4 separate regions of the Homo sapiens genome follow, and regions 2, 3 and 4 are each linked to region 1. The links are contacts of gene promoters, found by promoter capture Hi-C in blood cells and fetal thymus (Javierre and others, 2016). All regions are on one chromosome and are shown on one strand. The core of a region is centred on a gene start or on the middle of the fragment in contact, and the rest is flanking DNA. Distances in the headings are between cores, read along the strand shown. Region 1 holds the start of SMARCA5 (SNF2 related chromatin remodeling ATPase 5). Region 2 overlaps OTUD4 (OTU deubiquitinase 4). Region 3 overlaps ABCE1 (ATP binding cassette subfamily E member 1). Region 4 overlaps OTUD4 (OTU deubiquitinase 4).

Evidence for each region. Contacts are between HindIII fragments. The CHiCAGO score rates a contact against its expected background, and 5 or more counts as called.
Region 2: a contact is called between a fragment that was not itself captured here and the fragment with the promoter of SMARCA5 in region 1, in 5 of 17 cell types (naive CD8 T cells, monocytes, total CD4 T cells and 2 more). The highest score is 8.7, in naive CD8 T cells.
Region 3: a fragment that was not itself captured here is called in contact with the fragment with the promoter of SMARCA5 in region 1 in 2 of 17 cell types (naive CD4 T cells and total CD4 T cells); the score reaches 6.5 in naive CD4 T cells.
Region 4: a contact is called between a fragment that was not itself captured here and the fragment with the promoter of SMARCA5 in region 1, in 4 of 17 cell types (naive CD8 T cells, total CD4 T cells, non-activated CD4 T cells and 1 more). The highest score is 17.0, in naive CD8 T cells.

The regions. Positions count from the first base shown.
Region 1 is chr4:143,512,000-143,515,646 of GRCh38, forward strand. It overlaps SMARCA5 (SNF2 related chromatin remodeling ATPase 5), which reads left to right and starts at 1,703. Exons shown (of 24, transcript NM_003601.4): 1 at 1,703-2,102. The coding sequence starts at 1,926. It overlaps SMARCA5-AS1 (SMARCA5 antisense RNA 1), which reads right to left and starts at 2,838. Exons shown (of 2, transcript NR_104027.1): 1 at 2,446-2,838; 2 at 1,473-2,226. RefSeq lists enhancers at 1,134-1,183, 1,204-1,293, 1,324-1,393, 1,424-1,793, 2,084-2,143 and 1 more. The HindIII fragment of the contact is 18,533 bases long and covers 1-3,647 here.
Region 2 is chr4:145,163,836-145,167,545 of GRCh38, forward strand. OTUD4 (OTU deubiquitinase 4) reads right to left here. Exons shown (of 21, transcript NM_001366057.1): 4 at 1,316-1,362; 5 at 319-391. Among named protein-coding and RNA genes, the nearest start is that of OTUD4, 15 kb to the right of the region's middle. The HindIII fragment of the contact is 5,397 bases long and covers 1-3,710 here.
Region 3 is chr4:145,122,760-145,126,131 of GRCh38, forward strand. It overlaps ABCE1 (ATP binding cassette subfamily E member 1), which reads left to right. Exons shown (of 18, transcript NM_002940.3): 14 at 262-372; 15 at 456-598; 16 at 719-841; 17 at 2,231-2,342. Among named protein-coding and RNA genes, the nearest start is that of ABCE1, 26 kb to the left of the region's middle. The HindIII fragment of the contact is 3,737 bases long and covers 179-3,372 here.
Region 4 is chr4:145,141,502-145,145,026 of GRCh38, forward strand. It overlaps OTUD4 (OTU deubiquitinase 4), which reads right to left. Exons shown (of 21, transcript NM_001366057.1): 15 at 2,810-2,933; 16 at 2,445-2,500; 17 at 1,864-1,944; 18 at 695-833; 19 at 1-138. Among named protein-coding and RNA genes, the nearest start is that of OTUD4, 37 kb to the right of the region's middle. The HindIII fragment of the contact is 3,887 bases long and covers 1-3,525 here.

The DNA.
Region 1 (3,647 bases), core at 453-2,952:
ACCCTGTCTCTACTGAAAATACAAAAATTAGCCAGGCGTGGTGGTGCACGCCTGTAATTCCAGCTACTCCGGAGGCTAAGTCATGAGAATCCTTTGAACCTGGGAGTTGGAGATTGCAGTGAGCTGAGATCATGCCACCGCACTGCAGCCTGGGCGACAGAAACTGTCTGAAAACAAAACAACACAAAACAACCATTATTCTACATTAATGGTTGTTAAAGGTTAATAGTTCATTTTCTGGGTGTATGACAGTTTTAAACACCTAACTTTTAATACTGGATTCAGCCTACTGTTGTTAGCTTTTTGCAGTCATATATGAAGACTATGATGAACATCATTGTAGGTATTCATCTTTGCATATATCCTTAGACATTTCCTTATAGTCTAAGAACTAGCATTTCTAGTGGAGTGGGGACATTTTTCCAGATGTCCATTTAAGAATTATCATTCCATTAGTTAAAAAATTTGCAGGCTATATATTCAAAGGGGATCCCTTCTGTTTGGAATTCAACATAACCAGTTAGCTCAAACCTCAACTCTCGAAAAATGTGTCTCCTTTACTCAACAAACATTTAGAGAATACTGAATATGAGGAATAAAAAAAGATAAAAAAGACCCTGTACTGGGCAGGTAATCTACTGTAGTATGCAGATTCGTTATCAAACAGACTACAATGTATTTAAATTTTGTAGGCGATGAATGCACAAGGCCCTTAAGCTGCATTGAAGGCTGCCTAAGGCAGTATACAAAATCAGTGCTGAATATTTGTTAACACTTAAGGAGAATGTACGTTTTAATTTTCATGTTTGATGCTTGGGGAAAAGATTACATCGCACCACCTATCTTCCCCATATATTGATTATTCGTGTTTCTCACTTCCATGGTAGTGTGCACGTTATTTGCTTAACTTTGGCATATAAATTCAGAAGAAATATCATTTAACTCTGTGCCTAAGGAGGGTATTTAGAAATAACCGACGCAGCTAACATGAGAAGGCAAAAAAAAAAAAAAAGAAAAAAGAAAAAAATCACACTAACGGACTTTTTTTTTTTTTCTAACAACAAAAAACCGTGAGACTTCACTTGGGGTAACCATAACGTCGTCAAGGCTGTGGCGTCACGCCTCTAAGCGGATACGGCAGAAGTTTTGGGGCCAGACACAAGACTTCCAAGTTTGAATGGGCAGCGCAAAACCCAGACAAGTTTTCCGGTAGTGCCGCCAACCCCTGTCAGGCACAGAAGACACAGCGAGAACCGTGAGCCGTTACGAAAGCCTAAAACACTGAGCTCGCGTCCTGCCAAGCAGCAGGCGCACAAACCTACACCTCCGAGCGCTCCCTGGAGGTCCCGCCCACTCTTCTCTCCCGAGCCGGCTAGAGATCTGGAAGAGGGCGGGCCAAGGGTGAGGAGGGCAGTATGCGCATGCGCGCTCAGGACCCAGTCAGTGAGCCAATAAGGAATCTCGCGAGTGTTGAAAGTCGGTGGCGTAGGTCGTCGTCCTGGATGCTGGCGAGATAGATGTTATCTTCCAGAGGAAGAGGAGGAGGCGGCGAAGCGTTTTCCCAGCCTCAGTCTCTCTTTCGTTTTCCTTTTCCCTTCCCCCAACCCTCCGCCCTTCTCTAAATCAGCCGGCCTTCCTTGACCTCAGTGACCCGTCTGGCCCCGCCCACCCTCGTCGACGTGATTCCCGCCGTGAGGTAAGCGCCGGTGGAACCTAGAGCCCCGCGGAAGAGCAGAACGTTTGGGAGTGTGCAGCTCCTGGGCCCGGCTCAGGCCCGTCGCGGAGGCGCGGCGCAGGGGAGCGCTCGGGTGGGAGTCTCGCTCCTCCACCAGTTTATTGCGACGTAGCATCCAGGCCTAGGCCTCCCCGTCCATCCCCGCCGGACTCGGGCCTCTGGCAGCAGCGGGTGACGCAGACGGAACATCATGTCGTCCGCGGCCGAGCCTCCGCCACCCCCGCCTCCCGAGAGCGCGCCTTCCAAGCCCGCAGCCTCGATCGCCAGCGGCGGGAGCAACAGCAGCAACAAAGGCGGCCCCGAAGGCGTCGCGGCGCAGGCGGTTGCGTCTGCGGCCAGCGCTGGTCCCGCAGACGCCGAGATGGAGGTGAGGGCGACTTGCGGCATGGGGAGCGGGTGCAGCGGGGAGGAGGAGCTGGCTCCCTCGCCGGATCGTGGCGATCGGACGCAGAGCCGGGTTTCTCTCTCTGCACCAGACTCAGCTTCACACCCTGTGGATACGAAATGATGCTCTCACTCTTGCTCCCTTGTTCTTACCCTATTCGAGCTAAGCAAAATGGATTTCTGGCTCCTCACATTTAAATTATTTGTCTCTTTCGTGAATCCTGACAAATATTTGAACGCTCTCAGTGAACAGATGTTCTTGGTTACCGTGGCCCGGGGGACCCATCGTTTTTTTCCCACTAGACTCCCATAATTCCCTCTCCTACCTCTGAATGTGGTTTTTAGTTTCCACCAAACTTCGGGGAAGGGCGAGGAGATGACCCCTTAGGAGCGGGATGCACGGGCGGGGTGAAGGAGGCATTTAAAAGCAGCGCGTCCGAGGACTTGGGCCTCCTTTTCTTCTTCCCGGTCCTTGCAGGGGCGGTATCTGTTGTGGGCAGAAACAATGGCGAGAGCTGGATGGCCGAGTGCGCAGTGGGGATAAGCGGGGCGCAGCTGCTTCTGTGAAGGGAGAGAAGGCCCCTCCCAGGCACTATTCCACTGGAAGGGAAGCAACCAAGGCAGCAGCAGCTGTCTCGGATCCCCCGTCTAATTTAGGGGGGATGAATAAGTGTAGGAATGAATTAGAGAACCAGGCGCAGTTGGTTGGCTCTCAGTCCGGCACTTTTCTCTTTTTGGCCTCTGGCCTTAAGAAAAAAAAAAATTAGTACCACTCGCTGCCGAGACTTATGGGTTTGGGTTGGGCAGGGGATGCTGACAGTACTGAGGGGGCTGGAAAGATGGGGGAAGCTGCCAGGCGGGTAAATTGGATATGCTTCCAGGCTTTGCATCTGGGAACAAAGTAATTGCTCCTTCCAATTTTTATTTTCTTGGCCTTCGACCTGTTTTGAGATATTTTGTGAGTCGGAGCCCAAAGATTTCTGGGATTTTCCTATCCTTAGACAGAATGAAAGTAATACTGCTCCGAAGATGAGTCTTGATGCAGAATCATTATACAGTAAGAAAATGGTAGCGTAATTTACCATTGAGGCTTTTGGCACAGTAGTTATATTTGGGTAGCTGGGGTTAAGTAACATTAATGTTAGTAATCATTTAAAGAACTTTTAGTGGTGAGGGTAGGTTTAGTGACATAGGAACTCCTGATAGTTCCTGTAGTTTTGAGTGATTAAGATAAGATTACTTCCAAATTAAAATATATTCAGTGTTGCTTTTTTTTCCTTAAGGAAATGGTTCTTTTGGGTTACTAGGGCTCTTTAACTTGGATTTCTGTTCCAAGGCTTAAGGGGTTTGACACAAAGCAATTATGTGTAAATGTGCAGTTCTCTACAAAAATTGTTTATAGTTTTTCCTCAGCTTCTCAAAGGGGTCTGCCATCCAAACTTTGGAAAAATGAATGTTTCACCAGAGGTCTTATTAATATCTGAATGCAGAGTAATTTTAAGCCTAAAGCAAGTCAACATTTTTGACT
Region 2 (3,710 bases), core at 468-2,967, 1.7 Mb after region 1:
AGCTGGGATTACAGGGATGTGCCACCACGCCCGGCTAATTTTGTATTTTTTCAGTAGAGACAGGGTTTCTCCATGTTGGTCAGGCTGGTCTCAAATTCCTGACCTCAAGTGATCTGCCTGCCTTGGCCTCCCAAAGTGCTGGGATTACAGGCATGAGCCACCGCACCCGGCTATAGGAACTTTTAAGAAATCAGAATACCATAACCTTAATACAGAAATATTTCAAAAAATCATTTAAAATTATAGCTTATGAGGTCATGGTAGCAACTAAGCGGTTCTTTTACTTAAATACTTTAGAACACTTTGAAAAATTCTTACCTTTTCAGGAAAATTATTTTCTGTTACTTGTGAAGGAGAAACATTTGGTTCCCGATAAATTATAAAATCTTTCCTGAAAATAACAATTAGAAATTATTTATAATGGACTATACTTCATGAATTTGAATTTAATCATTCATTCATTCATCAAGGGCCTAATACGTGCCAGGCACTGTCCCAACCACTGGAGATACAAAAGACAATAATGAGATAACTAAGTTGTAAAATATCTATATAAAAGTAACCTTTTTAACATGTAAAATTTCAAATATTATTTGTATATATATTAAATTTCAGATATAATTCTAAAGGGACACTTCAAAAATCAAAGAAATTTTGAAGATGAAATTTAAACAACATTCTGAAAAGAAAAAACAAAGTATTTACCTGCTCCTCTACTAGGCAAAAGTAGCAAAATTGAATACAGGTTGAGCATCCCAAATCTAAAAAGCCAAAATCCCAAATGTTCCAAAATCTAAAACTTTTTGAGCACCAACATGACACTCAAAGGAAATGCTCATTGGAGCATTTTGGATTTCAGATTTTCAAATTAGGGATGCTCAACTGGGTAAGCATAATGTAAATATTCCAAAATTTAAAAAAAAAATGAAATCCAAAAACTTCTGGACTCAATCATTTCAGATAAGGAATACCCAATTTGTAACATGGTATTTTAGTACGGTTCTAGTGGCCATTCAATACCACTGACCCTGAGAAAGTAGAAAATCATTTCTCTACAAAGTTGATAAGTGATATCTTACAGAACATAGACCGGAAAAATTTCTGTACCCTTTTCCAAAGTATTTTGAGAATTAAAATTTCTAAACACTGACATATCTAAATGTCAAAATCTAATTGATGCAATTAAAAAAAACTTAGAAAAGATACTTCATAACTAAAGTATAAAAGAGCTTTGCTATTTTAACATTTTTAATATAATGGAATATAATTTCCCACTGGTTTCATTTTCTTTTACTTATGTTATTACAGTGTTTACCTGTACATAAGAGAAAGGGCACTTATTTCCACTTGTCCTACCCATTCCTGTATTGAAGAAAAAAAGGTGGCATGTAAGTGTCTCACACTTTTTAGATTCCACTTTATATTTCTATACATACCTTCATACAGCATACGTAATGAGTTCTTAAAGCTCATTATTATTAGTAGTATTGTGAATATTATAAAAACGTTTATATAAAACAGACCACAATATGTGGTAAAATGCAGTCCAAGTCTCTCCCACACATACACAAAAAAATACTAACAGGGTGAAATGACAGTTCCTATTGGTGTGGCAAGACCACAGCATGGCATCTGTTAAGTTGAGACTTTTTTTTTTTTGAGATGGAGTTTCGCTCTTGTTGCTCAGGCTGGAGTGCAGCGGCGTGATCTCGGCTCACCGCAACCTCTGCCTCCGAGGTTCAAGCGATTCTCCCGCCTCAGCCTCCCAAGTAGCTGGGATTACAGGCATGTGCCACCATGCCCAGCTAATTTTGTATTTTTAGTAGAGACGGGGTTTCTCTATGTTGGTCAGGCTGGTCTCAACTACTGACCTCAGGTGATCCACCCGCCTCAGTCTCCCAAAGTGCTGGGATTACAAGCGTGAGCCACTGCGCCTGGCCCAAGTTGAGAACGTATTGAAGGCAAGGGCTATCCTCCAGCCTAGCCCTCAGGAGAGCGCCTGGCACATGGTATAAGCTCGGGAAATGAAATACTGAATAGAGGCGGCTGGGCGCAGTGGCTCATGCCTGTAATCCCAATACTTTGGCAGGCCAAGGAGGGCGGATCACCTGAGGTCGGGAGTTCGAGACCAGTCTGACCAACATGGAGAAACCCCCTCTCTACTAAAAATACAAACTTAGCCGGGTGTGGTGGCCCATGCCTATAGTCCTAGCTACTCAAGAGGCTGAGGCAGGAGAATCGCTTGAACCCAGGAAGCAGAGGTTGCAGTGAGCCAAGATTGCACCATTGCACTCCAGCCTGGGCAACAAGAGCAAAACTCGGTCTCAAAAAAAAAAAAAGAAAGAAAGAAATATTGAATAGAAGCAGAAAATTGGGAAGTATAGAAAAGGGCAGAAGATCTCTTCTCTTCAGGGTAAATGAAGGTACAAAAGAGAGCAGTGTCCTAGCAATTGTTTTGAAAACAAGAGAAATTCTACACTCCTTAGAAAAGTCACTTAAAGCCTTTCTGAAAGGCAAATGGCCAGTATGTTTCAAAATTTAAAATGTCCCATATACCCTGTGACCCAGCAATTCAACTTCTATACGTCTATCATAAAGAAATATTTCACATCTACAAAAGTGTATGTAAAATAATGATGTCACTGGGAGTTATTTGTAACAGTGTTTAAAAAAAAAAAAAAGTCCCTAAGATTCCTACAGAATAGTAAAATAATTCATGTTTCAGGCAGGATGTGGTGGCTCACGCCTGTAATCCCAACACTTTGGGAGGCCGAGACAGGCAGATCACGAGGTTGGGAGTTCAAGACCAGCCTGACCAACACAGTGAAACCCCATCTCTACTAAAAATACAAAACATTAGTCGGGCCTGGTGGCACATGCCTATAATCCCAGCTACTCGGGGGCTGAGGGAGGAGAACCACTTGAAGCTGGGAGGCAGCAGTCGAGTAAGCCGAGATCGCGCTGCTGCACTCCAGCCTGGGAGACAAGAGCGAAACTATGTCTCATAAAAAATAATTCATGTTTCAGCCACACTATAGAATATCATGCATTCATTCAAAAGAATGAGGTATAACCACATGAAATGACCTAGAAAAATCACTCAAGATTAAGTTTTAAAAGTAAATCATGGGAAAATAATACTATTTGTGAAAAACAAAAAGGCATATATATTGGTACATGTGCACACATAGAAAGGGGATGGGGAGGATACATCCTAAATTGACAATAGAGACAGGGAAGTTAACATGAGGAAAAATGAAGAATTTTCACCCTTTATTCTATAATACATCTATATTTTAAAACTTTTACCGTAAGAATATTTTCCTATAGTACTGTGAAGTCGGTAAAGACTTAATACATTAAGTCACCAAAAACAATGAGCTTTGGTAAATGAATGCTGCCACTTATTCCTTGAAAGGAAAGAAAAACTGAAATAAGGAAAATATTTTAAACAATGTTTTGATCTTAGACCAGCACAATCTTTTCCCTCAGAGACTTTTCAATAGTTCTTAAAAGTTAGCTCTGATTTTCAAAATGAAATAGGTGCCATATATTAAAATAGATCTCTTAAAATAAGCCTCAGCCTAACAATCATGGCTTCTCACAAACTGCTAGAAGTGATACCCTCTGGTGTAGAGGAAACCGTTCACTGATATGAGTCTGTTTAGATCAAACACACGAGCTACATTTCTAATTTTTATACAAGAAGT
Region 3 (3,372 bases), core at 797-3,296, 1.6 Mb after region 1:
CTGATCATGCCATTGCACACCTGGGCAATGGAGCAAGACCCTGTCTCAAAAGAAAAAAAAAAATTCCTTTTTACTTGTTGGACATGATGGGTTTTGAATAGAAAATCTCAAAACATGTCATAGATGGTGGATACACATTGATATCTGTTGGTGGCAAATTGATATACTTTTATTCTGAAGCTTAACTTTGTCAAGATTCATAAATAGAAGAGTTCTATAGTGAAAGTTTATCATTTAAATACTTTTTTATATTAAAAACAGGGAAGTGTTCGCCAGTTACTACATGAAAAGATAAGAGATGCTTATACTCACCCACAATTTGTGACCGATGTAATGAAGCCTCTGCAAATTGAAAACATCATTGATCAAGAGGTACTTTAACATAATTTTTTTTATTTTTTTATTATTTTGAATTTTGGATGCCTTTACATGGTTTGCTAAACTCCTCCAATTAGGTGCAGACATTATCTGGTGGTGAACTACAGCGAGTAGCTTTAGCCCTTTGCTTGGGCAAACCTGCTGATGTCTATTTAATTGATGAACCATCTGCATATTTGGATTCTGAGCAAAGACTGATGGCAGCTCGAGTTGTCAAACGGTAAATATCTTGCTCCTAGCCATATTTTGATTATGTATACTGTCCTACAAGTGTGCTTAATATAACAGTCGAATGTTTTATGATAGAAAGCTATAAGATTTCAAAATCATTGTGTTTTAGTTTCATACTCCATGCAAAAAAGACAGCCTTTGTTGTGGAACATGACTTCATCATGGCCACCTATCTAGCGGATCGCGTCATCGTTTTTGATGGTGTTCCATCTAAGAACACAGTTGCAAACAGGTAAAATTACTTTTTAATATGTTCAAAGTAATTCATTTTAAATTTTCCAGTAAATAGTAAAGTCACTCACTTTAATTTTTAAAAAATGAAAGCTAGAAATTCTAGACTTGATTCTGTGACTCCTGAGATCATTGGTATTGGGGACTGGATGGGACCATGTGGAAGAGTAGTGTTTAGGCTTCAGTGTGGAATCCCTCACCAGGAAGATAAAAAGCTGTAGGCCACAGCATAAAAAGCTGTGGGCCCCTCACCTTTTCTCAGCTTAACTTTTGTTTGCTTTATTATTTGAATTTCCCAAAAAAGATTGAAAACTATTGCTTTCATACATGATAGAAAAAGAAAACAAGATTAAAGAGGTTACATGATTTGTCCAACTTATGCTGACAGTGATTGAGCTCACAGTGGATCCCAAATATCTGGTATTAATCTATAGCAGAGTTAAAATAAATGGTTTTACTTTTTTCGTTTTTTCTTCTCATTTTTCCTTGTTAGCCTGATTAAGAGCACTTGCAATATAGAGAAGCCTAACATTCAGATCAAGTTATGAGAAATTCATTTTACCTTTAGTGCTAAAGCCTATATTATTAGATTGAACTAAATGAAATTACTGGTGTTCAGTTTTCACCTATAAAACCAGCAGTTTCATGTGGTTTCAGCATGTTTTCTGGTATTGGAGAGCAAGGAATGGAGTTGCCATTTTAATAATTCATCTAAGAAATAAAAGTATTTTGCTGGGCTTCTTCCCTGAATTCCTTTTTTTTTTTTATAAATTGAGAATTACATATTTCTTAAAGAGCTAGGGAAATTTCTTAGCATATGTGATGTTTATTTGTTCATCTAGTGATATCCCACCTTTCTATTTACAAAATTTTAAAATGTTTCACATGTATGTTGTGATTTGGCATGATTTAAGAACTCACTTGGGTAAAAACGATTAAGCATAGAAATTTAGAAAGGAATTGTCACTGAAAACCACTATTAGGAGGACATATTCCCTCCAGTAACAAATTTTTCATATAAATATAACTTTTTAAGATTCTCATCCCCCCTAAAAATGTGCAATTGGAGATTCTGTAATCTACTTATTAATTATCTTCTGTTTTTCTAAAGTAGTACTTCTATCTTAAATGTTTCTTTCACCAGATTAGAAATCCAGGTTAAATTTTTTTTTTGTTTTGCACAAAAATATTACAGCCAAGAAAACTATATAGTCCAAGCAAAGCTATTTCTGAACACAGGATTTGTAATATGCTGTTATTATACTGTTATCCAGATGATTTATGATTGGGGAATTTGAGGTAATAGTAATTCTTAATACCCTTCCTCTCAAAAGGTAGTTACATTTCTGAAGTAAAATTTAATCAAAATTGATTTTTTTTTTTCTCTTAGTCCTCAAACCCTTTTGGCTGGCATGAATAAATTTTTGTCTCAGCTTGAAATTACATTCAGAAGAGATCCAAACAACTATAGGCCACGAATAAACAAACTTAATTCAATTAAGGTATGTAGAAAAGTTGTCTTAAATCATGGATTACTGATCTCAGTATAAACACTTGAAAGGCTATTTAAAAATCAATAACATATGGCTGGGCACAGTGGCTCACACCTGTGATTCAAGCACTTTTGGGAGGCCAAGGCAGGCAGATCACTTGAGGTCACGAGTTTGAGACCAGCCTGGCCAACATGGTGCAACCCCATCTCTACTAAAAATGCAAAAATTAGCCGAGTCTGGTGGCAGGTATCTGTAATCCCAGCTACTTAGGAGTCTGAGGCAGGAGAATCACTTGAACCTGGAAGGTGGAGGTTGTAGTGAGCTGAGATCATCCCACTGTACTCCAGCCTGGGCAAAAGAGTGAGACTCTGTCTAAAAAAATAAAAATAAATTAAAAAACAACCATATTTTATTTTAAAATTCCTATGTTTTTTACATTTTAAGACCTGATGGCATACTTTAGTGTGCGGTAGGCAGCAATTGTAATGTAGCTGTCATTGCTGTGTGAACTCAAGAGCTCTTCCTGTTTTCTCTTTAAGTTGTATCACAGTTGTACTACCTATATTGATTACCACTTAAAATGTCTGGGGAAAGATTACACTAATTCACCATTGTAACAAAGAATTTTTTAAGAATACCTTAACCAATTTCTGTTATATTTTTCAATACATGATTAAAAGGTGTATTTTAGGCCAAGCGCAGTGGTTTATGCCTGTAATCCCAGAACTTTGGGAAGCCAAGGAGATCGAGACCATCCTGTCTAACGGTGAAAACCCATCTCTACTAAAAATACAAAAAATTAGCCAGGCGTGGTGGCATGCGCCTGTAATCCCAGCTACTCGGGAGGCTGAGGCAGGAGAATCACTTCAACCCAGGAGGTGGAGGTTGCAGTGAGCTGAGATCGTTCCACTGTACTCCAGCCTGGGCAACAGAGCGAGTCTCTGTCCCTGCCCCCGCCCCCGCAACCCCCGCAAAAAAAGTATATTTTGAAAGTCTAAACAAGCTCCTGTGATGAGGAAAACATTGTGTCTACTTAATT
Region 4 (3,525 bases), core at 521-3,020, 1.6 Mb after region 1:
AAGGCATCAAGGGCTGGTTAACTGCCTGTATTGACACAGGAACTGGAGAGGGTGTTAAATGAGCTTGGGATACAGCTGAATCAGGTCCAGTGGTCAAAGTCTGTGTCACTGACAAAACGGGAATTGGAGCAGGGACACCTACAAAAGAGAAGAAAAGGAATCAAAATGACAAAAGATGAAAATCTCTACAAATATGCTTACATTAACCTATAAAGAATGCTGTATAACTGATAAAGCCAATCTAAAGTAGTACCTTTTAGTATCAACCAAGAGCCCTCCTGGACACCAAGAAGGAAATACGTCCAGGATACAAGCTCTGAGTCAATGTCTTCTAATAGTAGCTCTTGCAGGCACGTGTAGGACATGGGGCTGGTCAAGGGGTTCATTACGGGGCCATAAAGAGCTGGCCCATGAAGGAAGCATCAAACCGTGGTGCTAATTAGTGCTGAGCAACCAAAGCAACCAGCTCAAACATCATGCTCCTGAGACTATGAGGGCATATGTCAGATGAATACAACACCAAATGTACATGGTCTTTCCACATTGGAAGCAGAGCAAAGCAGAGTATCACAGAAAGCTCTGTGAGGCTCCACACACCTAATCCTGCTCAGAGGTCAAACTTCCACTCAAGAATTTGAAGTCTCTGACTAGAAAGGTATTTTGGCTGGCTAGATTTTCTAAACCCTTCTCTAACCTGTTGGTCCAAAAGTTGTAGGTTCACTTGGCCAGGCTGGCACAGTGGCTGGTAAAGAAGGCACCGCAGGAGTTAGATGTACCTCTGGAGAAACTAGAAGGGGAGCTGGATTTGACAAAGACACATGTTCTGCTGGCTTCTTCAAGAAAGGGGTGAGTGGGGGAAGACAGAAAAAGACAAGAGGTCATTTTGCTTTAACACTATTTCTAACCACCAGATACATATTGAGTTGCCTGCCTTTTATACAAATGAAGTACAAATAGCCCTTATAGTCTTAGAAATGTAAGAAAAACACACAGTAGCTAAAGATAATATGCAAACAAATTTGATCCTAACCAAGGGTTGCCTACCAACAAGGACTGTATTTTTTAATACAGACAGGGTTTCACCCTGTTGCCCAGGCTAGTCTCAAAACTCTTGGGCTCAAGCGATCTGCCCGCCTTGGCATCCCAAGGTGCTGGAATTACAGGCGTGAGCCACCGCACCTATCCACTAGCAGAGTTAAATACAACACAATACTTTTAAGGCAAGTGAGCAAAATCATTGAAATCTTGAAATTCATGATTATTTAGAAAAACTCCTCATGTAACTATATGCTTTCTTACCAATATGAAGAATGTTGGTTGAAAGGCATTTAACATTTAACTTTCTCTACTCTTGTATTAGTCAAGAACTAAAATGTCTGCTAGAACACAGGTTCATCATGAAATTTGTAAATTGGTATTTTTTTAATGTATATTTTTCAAACCTTTTCAATCAGTACATTCCCTCCCATCTGTGAAATAACTGATGCAGATAACTCTTTTAAATTTTGAAATAAAGTAGAAATTCAGTTTCCCTTCAAAAATCTAATTTTCAAGGAAATCTACCAAAGTAATACAAAGTATCAAATATAACGATAACAAATATAAATATATTCAAAGTCAATTCAAAAAAATGGTCTCAATCACCAGAAAATGGTGGTTATTTCTATAACATTCCATAAATAGAGAACATTCTAGACTAACATCAGAATACATTTAAAAATCATAACCACAGCCAAACTGTGATGCCAGAAAAAATTCTCCCATTTCCCATACTGATGTTTTCTGTTTTTAAATGACCCTATACACAGAGCACAGAAACCCAGAGAGTGGAGCATTCAATGTTAAATGCAACAATATACTTACTTGTTCCGCAGGAGAAGGGCACTCTAACTTCTTTGACTTTGATGGTGATGAAACTGTTGCATATTTATCATCAGTAATATTCTTTGGAAGCAAAAAAGAAGCAAAGTTTTGTATTTCAGAGACCCACATTCTGGAATATTGATGGTTTCCTTTTATAATTCACCCTACCTGTATCTGACAGAACCCTCTCACCACTGAGTATTTTTTCCAATTATATGTTATTTTCAACAGGTAGGCTAACTTTGCCTGAACATCTTTATTACATCAAACTACTGGGCAGTTTTCACTGGAGGCAAGGCTTCAAACATTATACTCTTCTCCTTTAAAAACATCACTCTAGAGGGACAGAGAATAAAGGCTACTTTCTAACAATTCAGGCAGGGCACCCTAATGTACCTTGAAGAAACTGTCATAATTTGTGAGTGACTTCTCAATCCCCATCATCTTTTCCCTGCTTTTCTACTTTCCTAATACACAGCTATAAAATTTCGAAATTATTTTCACCTTCTTCCACTTCTTCCTACTGTACTACACAGTATTAAGGAAAAAGAAAAGATGCAAGTAGTGTTTAAAACTTTTACCTCCAATGTGCTTGGTTCGGGTCTTTTATCCAACTGACTATGTCCATGAATAGAGTCTATAGCAGATCAAGATTAAAAAAGACAGCATAAGCCACCAGTCATGTCTGAACACAGAAGAACAAAATACGAAGATAGAAGAAGCCAAAAGTATTATTTGAACCATGTTTAGTCAGTGAAAATGTAGTTTTTAGAATAGCACTTAACATCCTTTAGCTTGAGTCAATACTTCTCTGCAACATTCAAAATATGTGACATTAGATAAACTACTTAACAACTTAAAAAGGGTTCTTTCCCAAATATATGACATTAAGCCAGTCATCTAAAGAGATCTCTAGCATCTGCTTTCTAATGATGAGATAACTTACCTTTGTCTTTTCGTTCTTCTGTATCCATTCTCCGCCTGCTTCCTTTTCTATCACCTACATGTGATGATTTTCTCTGGACACATGGATTGCTACTCTGAGAAGCTGACTGATTGACTGATGAGCTCTTTAAAATGAACAAAACCCAACATTTTGTGTTAAAGATTTACCCACAGATACATGAACAAATTCTGTAATTAATCTCACTCTTCATACTTCTAAAATCTTAAAATTCACAGCCCTGTATTTTTAACTGAAACTAAAGAAGATAGAATCTAGGGTCCATAATTAATTATACACCCTAGAATAATAGTCTTATCGCTAAGTTGAAAGGATTAAGCAATCAGATTTCAACTTAGATTAGTAGACTTAATCTTCATATCCCTATTTCAGGAAGCCACCCTGAACAAACCTTTACCCTACAATTTTTCTTTCAAAAAAAACAACATCTTCTGTGCCAACCTTCCAAAAAAATCATTGTAGCGCCATATTTTTTGGTGGGGAGTTGGGGAGAACCTAAGTGCAAATTAGCAAATACAGTGCACTAGGATTCTTATCACTGAAATGCTTACTGTCAGCAAATCACTTAAACTCTGCATGAGATAAGGGACTGAAATAAGTGAGGTTTTTAAGCTAAATTATCACTGAGGGTTCTAGGTTCCTGTTTTGGCATTCTAAATAAATGTTCCACACAGCTAAGAGGAGGATCTCAGCCCTCT